Regions from separate parts of the Homo sapiens genome. Here region 2 is linked to region 1. The links are contacts of gene promoters, found by promoter capture Hi-C in blood cells and fetal thymus (Javierre and others, 2016). All regions are on one chromosome and are shown on one strand. Each heading gives the region's core, a stretch centred on a gene start or on the middle of the fragment in contact. The rest is flanking DNA. Distances are from core to core; before and after follow the strand shown.

Region 1 (3,325 bases), core at 496-2,995:
TTTGCAGGTCTGTGATTGTGGAATTCTGGAGTGTTAGCTCCGCAAATTCACTACTTCACTCAGCCCTCACCACAAACCCCCACCCAGTAAGGTGCTGCCACCCGCAGTAAGGATATGAAAAAACTGAGGCTGGGGGTGGTGGACATGACTTGTAAGATGTTTCTAGAAAGCTCTGCTGTGACAACCAGTAACTGTTTTTTAAAAGCCCAGTCCAACTCTCTGGGCTCGGACCTAGTTCGCGGTGACATGGCCAAACCTACCAAGAAAGTCGGGATCGTCGGTAAATACGGGACCCGCTATGGGGCCTCCCTCTGGAAAATGGTGAAGAAAGTTGAAATCAGCCAGCAGGCCAAGTACACTTGCTCTTTCTGTGGCAAAACCAAGATGAAGAGATGAGCTGCGGGGATCTGGCACTGTGGTTCCCGCGTGAAGACAGTGGCTGGCGGTGCCTGGACATACAATACCACCTCCGCTATCACGGTAAAGTCCGCCATCAGAAGCCTGAAGGAGTTGAAAGACCAGTAGACGCTCCTCTACTCTTTGAGACATCACTGGCCTGTAATAAATGGGTTAATTTACGTAACAACAACAACAACAAAAAAGAGCCCAGTCCAAACCCACAGCTGCTAAAATTTGGCCATGGCTACCCAAAACCCCCACATTTACTATTACCCCTATACCCACCACATTCTCCTAGGATGGGAAGAGGAAGCAAAGAGTTCTTTGGTGACCATCTCCCTGGAAGGGTGGAATGGGGTCATGGGGGCTCTTCCATGAGAGGGGCCACTATATGTAGAGAATAATGTGTGGCCATTATGAGGGGGCCCAGTGGTCTCATGTGGGCATGGACATCTAGAGGCTGAGAGAAACGGGCTGCCTGGCTGAACTGGTGAAGGAGCCAGTGTGGGCGTGCTAAGGTAAGCCACATTCCCAGGACTTTCGGAGTACAGGCTGCTGGCTGGAGTGTTTCCCATGGGCCAGTGTTGGCAGAGAGCACCTACAAGGGGTCCTCTTGGGTCCTGTCCCCTAGAGCCTCCTGGAGGGGCAGAGGTGTGGCAGCAGCAAGAAGCTTGAGTTGGATGTTGGGTTCCTAAGGGCTGACGAAGGACTTGCAAGGGACCCCTATGAGGAGAGATGCATCCCCCAAGGTTAAGAGTGAGAGGGCCCCTGTGACAGTGGCCATCTCCATGGAGCCCACGACAGAAAGGGGCAGCTTGAAGCCAGCCAGGATGGTGGCAGCTCAAGGGAGACCCTTCCTCTCCCCTTGCCATCTCCAACACCCCCCACTGTACCCCACGGGTGGGTGAGGGAAGGAGAGATAGAGAAGGAGTCACCCACACCACCTCCCTGAAGCAGGCCTGAGGGTGAGGGGAGAAGGTTTAAACCCAAATCAAATTGGGAATTTTGGTTAGAAGCTTGACTGGACATTCTCATTTCTAAATTGAGGTTGTGTTTGTGACCTAAAGTGACCATAGAATTGCCTGTTTCCTCAGAACAAGCAGAAGAATAATGGGGAGATTTCACCCAGTGGCAGGGAAAATGTTTCTCTACCAAATACATCTTAGAAAGGACACTGGGAGATACAAATTAAGGTATGCTTTGATTATGTCACAGGCTGGGTTTGTTCAACATGCTGGTCTCAGTGAGAAGGAGGATTCTCCAAAACAAGTCTAGGAAGTGAATGTTCCAGAATGTTCTAGAACTTGATTCATTAGGCAGGCAAGAAGTGTGCCTCTGGGAACCTCTTGAGCCCTTCATGGGCTAGCACACCAACACCATCCCCCCAGATGCTTCAGTTGTTGGCTTCGAATGGCTTACTATTTCCATTTCTACGGAGAACTGCCATCTCAGGAATCACCTCACCCTGGAGTTTATTCCCCTCACCCACAGGGTGGCTGGCAGCCAACAGCTGACTCGTACAGAGGTACACAAAGCCAGCCTTTTTGCTAGACTTTACCTGAGACCACATCTTTTCTTGTTTCCCTCCCTGTCTTGCTTCCCTTCATCCCTTACAGGTTCTTTCCTTTATAAATCACACAGTACCTAATCTTTGCTTCAGGCTCTGTGTCTGAGGAGCTGAAAATGATTTTGGGCATCAGGAGGTGCTTTTGTGACTGGGCTCTTTCACTAGTTCTGAGCTAGGTAATCCATTAGCGAAACTTCTAGATCCTAAATCAAACTACATAGATTCAAATCACAGCACCATTACTTCACTGCTGTGTGACCTTGGCCAATGACTAGTTACTACATCCCAGTTTTCTCATCTGTCATACAGAAGGCAAACACTGACCCACCTCACAGGGCTTTGCAAGGATTCAACATACAAAAGCACCTAGGATAGTGCCTGGCACAATCGATGGTGCCATTGTTATTCCTCCAGGCTAACAGCACTGACTAAGTGCAAAGGAAGTGGCTTTTTGCCATCTAGTTGAGGATGCTGTATCCTGGGGTAAGTGGCCAGATCATAGGATGGCTGTGGTTCAATTGTAATAAAATAATCACCCTTGGCCAGGCTGGTGGCTCACACCTGTAATCCAGCACTTTGGGAGGCCGAAGCAGGTGGATCACCTGACGTCAGGAGTTCGAGACCAGCCTGGCTAACATGGTGAAACCTTGTCTCCACTAAAAATACAAAAATTAGCCAGGCATGGTGGTGCGTGCCTGTAATCCCAGCTACTTGGGAGGCTGAGGCAGGAGAATCACTTGAACCTGGGAGGCGGAGGTTGCAGTGAGCTGAGATTGCAACACTGCACGAGACTCCATCTCAAAAACAACAACAACAACAAAAACCCACCGTTTATGGAACCCCTACTATGTCCCAGTCCCTGTTCTATGTGCTGCATATGTGCTTATGTGCTAGTTCACTCTGTCTTCACTACCTTTCAAAACTGATGTAATTATCTCCTTTCTTTTTTGAGATGGAGTCTCGCTCTGTTGCCAGGCTGGAGTACAGTGGCACGATCTTGACTCACTGCAACCTCCGCCTCCCGGGTTCATGTGATTCTCCTGCCTCAGCCTCCCGAGTAGCTGGGACTACAGGTGCACACCACCATGCCCAGCTAATTTTTGTACTTTCAGTAGAGATGGGGTTTCACCATGTTGGCCAGGATGGTCTCGATCTCTTGACCTCATGATCTGCCTGCCTCAGCCTCCTAAAGTGCTGGGATTACAGGCGTGAGCCACTGCACCCGGCCAATTATCTCCATTTTACACATGAAAACACTGAGGTCCAGACAGTCTAAGAAACCATCTATTAGATCCACAGGTTAAAAAAAATGAGTGCATCTAAAATGACTATAATTAAAAAGGCCAGACTGGGAAGTAG
Region 2 (3,325 bases), core at 516-3,015, 110 kb after region 1:
GGCCCCTTTGAGAGACAATGTCTTCCCCTAGCCACAGGTTCAACCAAGTCATCCATTGGCATCTATACTCCAGGTCTTAAAATTGTGGATTAAGGGTGGCCTCACCCTTAATCTCCTCTATGCTATCTCCTCTAATCTCCCCGCTCTCTGGGAGATAGGTCCTGTTGTTATCTTCATTTTACAGATGAGGAAATAGGTTCAGAGAGGGGAAATGTCTTGCCCAAGGTCACACAGCTGGTGTGTGGGATGGGTTCCCAGGCTGTTGGTTTCTTCAGCCTCTGCCATTTCCAGTGCATCACATATTCCTGTTTGATGGGGGTCAAAGCAAAGAAGATTCTTCCTGACTAGAGTCAGGAGATCAGGCCCTGATTCTGTCATTCCCTGGCCCTCTGTCCTCAGCAATTGATGACATAAATGTTGATTGTGTCTTTGCAATGCACGTGGTATCAAGGGCTTTACATCCTTGTTCCCCACGGCATCCACCATGATCTTAAGACACATCCTAGTCCTGTCTCCACTTCAGAAAGAAAGCAAGAGGCACGTGAATGTTGAGCCGTGTGACAGAGTCACAACTAGACCCCGAGGTCTGCTGGATTCCAGAGACCAAGTTCTGTGCGGGTGTGTGATTTGAACAGGTTTATAAAAGGCACCCAACTTTTAAAAAATCCAAAATGTGTCCCCAAAAGATAAAACATTCTCTTGAATTTCCCTCCTCAGAAACAAACCTGTCACCAATTTTATTGTGTCATTCCACGAATTTTCTATGCGTGGAATGTACACGTATACGCGTGTGTACATATATACATCTATATCCGTTTCGCTATCAGCAACTACACAGTTCTTCAGTGTACCGTTTTCACTTAATTTAACTGAGAGGTTCTTCCCTGTCACACACAGATGTGCGTTGTTTCCTTGAACAATGGGATAGCATTCCACTGTAAAGACGTCTCACGCTTTATTTACCCGTCTTCCCTCTGCTGAGGGACATTGGGTTGCTTCCAATGTGGGGGTCACCCTAAGGAGTGAGCCTGAGCCTTTCACTCTCAGTAACACATGCTTTCTAGCCCTGCATCTGAGTTTCACACGTCCGCACAAGATATTCTCATTTTCCAACGCTCCACCCTGCGCGGCGCTTTCTACCTCCTCCCCATTATCCAGAGCCAACGGAGGTGCGGAGCGACCGAGCTGCCCGGTCCCACGCCCAGCTTGATAATGCACCAGCAACGTGACCTAGGCCCAGCAAGCCTCTCCTGGTGGACCTCAATTTGCCCCGCATCGAAACAGGACGGTGCTTCCAAGCCCCACCCTCTGTGGGGTTTTGGAAAGACCCCTGAGATGCATTCCCAGGAAGGCCTCTGGACAGACAAAATGAGCCAAGCCTCTGCCCCAGGGCTTCTCGGCCCCTCCCAGCACTTCTCGCACCAAGCAGGCCATGCCCCGGCTTGAGAGCTTAGGGAAGCGGTCACATTGCCTCCGTGGGGCTTCCTGCCCTTCCAGAGGAGCTCCAGGAGGAGCTTTGGGCCCGTAAGAAACACACGGGGAGGTGTCCCATGGCCTCCCAAAGCTGACCGCAGTCCCGCCCTGTCCAGTCTTCCCCCAGCCCCACTTACCGTAAGAACTCTCCACTGGAGCCCCGAGGGGCGCGTTCACGCTGACCATGGCCAAGCCCACCCAGCCGGAGAGCTGGGGGCATGGAGGAGCAGGGGCCCGCTCACAGCAGCAGCACAGCCACCAGGAGCCCGTCCACCAGGAAGGCGGTGAGTGCGGCCAGCTGCCACCGCCCGGTTATCTTATTGATTCTTCTAATCACCCAAGGTGGGTGGATACGTTAAAGAGTAACCAGTCACTTAGGGAACCCGCGGCTGGGGACTGTTGCTGTCTCCATGGCAATGGCGACCTGGCCAGACCTGAGGTCCACTCGGGTCCTAGTCCTGCACTCTGGGGTTAGGGGAACCCAGAGCCAGGTGTATGGGGACATCAGCCCCCCAATTTGAGGACAGGGCCGGAGCAGAAGGGGCTGGAGAGGTGAGAGTCCAACCTGGGTTGGGTTTTATGGCTCCAAACTATGGGTGTGTCACCATGCAGGAAGTAGTGGGAAAACCGAGGGAGGGGCAGAGGAAAAAAGGAGGGTGGAGAACTGTGTTTAGTGAGTGCCTACTGGATGCTGGGAGTTGCATACAGGCGTTACCATATTTAAATTAAACCTTGAGATGAAGGGACTGAAGGACAGAGAGAAATTGCATGCCTGGAGTCTCACTGCTAGTACATAGAGGTGTTATCTTCCTTTCATCTAACATATTTATTGAGCACCTACTATGTACCAGGCCTTGTGCTAGACTCTGGGGATATGGAAATGAGCAAAGTAGATGTACCCCCGAAACTTGTGGACTAATGGAGGAGACGGACCTTAATCAGATCGTCATTCAAAGATACTATTACAAACTGGTGAGTGATATGAGGGGTGGAGAAACATGGGGCTGCCTCCAGGCCAATGGGACAAAGTCATCCTGTCTGGCGTCTCCTCTGGTCTCCTTCCCCATTCTAAATTCAACCTGCTGCTGAAACTCACACACTCTGTTTTAGCTCCCTGGCATGTTAGACACCTGCCACCTAGCTTTTTTTTTGGAACAGCCCCGTTTCTTTTGTCTCAGTTTTGGATCTCACCACCTGCTTGGGGATTCTGAAATCAAGGTCATTCATCCTGTTAGAGAGAGCTGAAATGAGAACAGTGAAACAAATTCTGGACTCAGAAAAATCAGAAAACTCCAGCTCTATTATTTTCTTGCTGTATGTTTTTTAGTAAATTATTTCATTTCCTTATAGGAATACCTAGCTCATAGTTTGCCCTGCTTCTAAAATAGCTAATTGATAATATTCCTCTTCTCTTCCCATAGTCTCTTTTTTCAGCTTTATCAATCACCTCAGAGGGACCTTCAGCCCCTACAGATGGGCATGGGTTGCATTAAAATGTCCTTTCTTTTCTAAAACAACAGTGATAACAAACGTTAGATTTTGGGGCCGGGTGCAGTGGCTCACGCCTGTAACCCCAGCATTTTGGGAGGCCGAGGCGCACCGATCACGAGGTCAGGAGTTTGAGGCCAGCCTGACCAACATGGTGAAACCCCGTCTCTACCAAAAATAAAAAAATTAGCCGGGCATGGTGGCAAACGGGAGGCTGAGGCAAGAGAATCGTTTGAACCAGGGGGACAGAGGTTGCAGTGAGCCAAGATCGTGCCACTGCACTCCAGCCTGGGCAACAGAGAGAGACTCCATCTCAAAATAAATAAATAAATAAATAAATAAATAAATAAATAAATAACTTCGA

What was found. Contacts are between HindIII fragments. The CHiCAGO score rates a contact against its expected background, and 5 or more counts as called.
Region 2: a contact is called between the fragment with the promoter of HNF4A here and the fragment with the promoter of LINC01620 in region 1, in 2 of 17 cell types (M2 macrophages and megakaryocytes). The highest score is 6.0, in M2 macrophages.

Annotation. Positions count from the first base shown.
Region 1 is chr20:44,463,764-44,467,088 of GRCh38, reverse strand. It overlaps LINC01620 (long intergenic non-protein coding RNA 1620), which reads left to right and starts at 1,745. Exons shown (of 3, transcript NR_132343.1): 1 at 1,745-1,924. It also overlaps the pseudogene RPL37AP1. The HindIII fragment of the contact is 2,937 bases long and covers 1,418-3,325 here.
Region 2 is chr20:44,354,139-44,357,463 of GRCh38, reverse strand. It overlaps HNF4A (hepatocyte nuclear factor 4 alpha), which reads right to left and starts at 1,765. Exons shown (of 10, transcript NM_175914.5): 1 at 1,611-1,765. The coding sequence starts at 1,659. It overlaps R3HDML-AS1 (R3HDML antisense RNA 1), which reads left to right and starts at 2,222. Exons shown (of 4, transcript NR_184036.1): 1 at 2,222-2,445. It overlaps HNF4A-AS1 (HNF4A antisense RNA 1), which reads left to right. Exons shown (of 3, transcript NR_172878.1): 3 at 1-720. The HindIII fragment of the contact is 34,205 bases long and covers 1-3,325 here.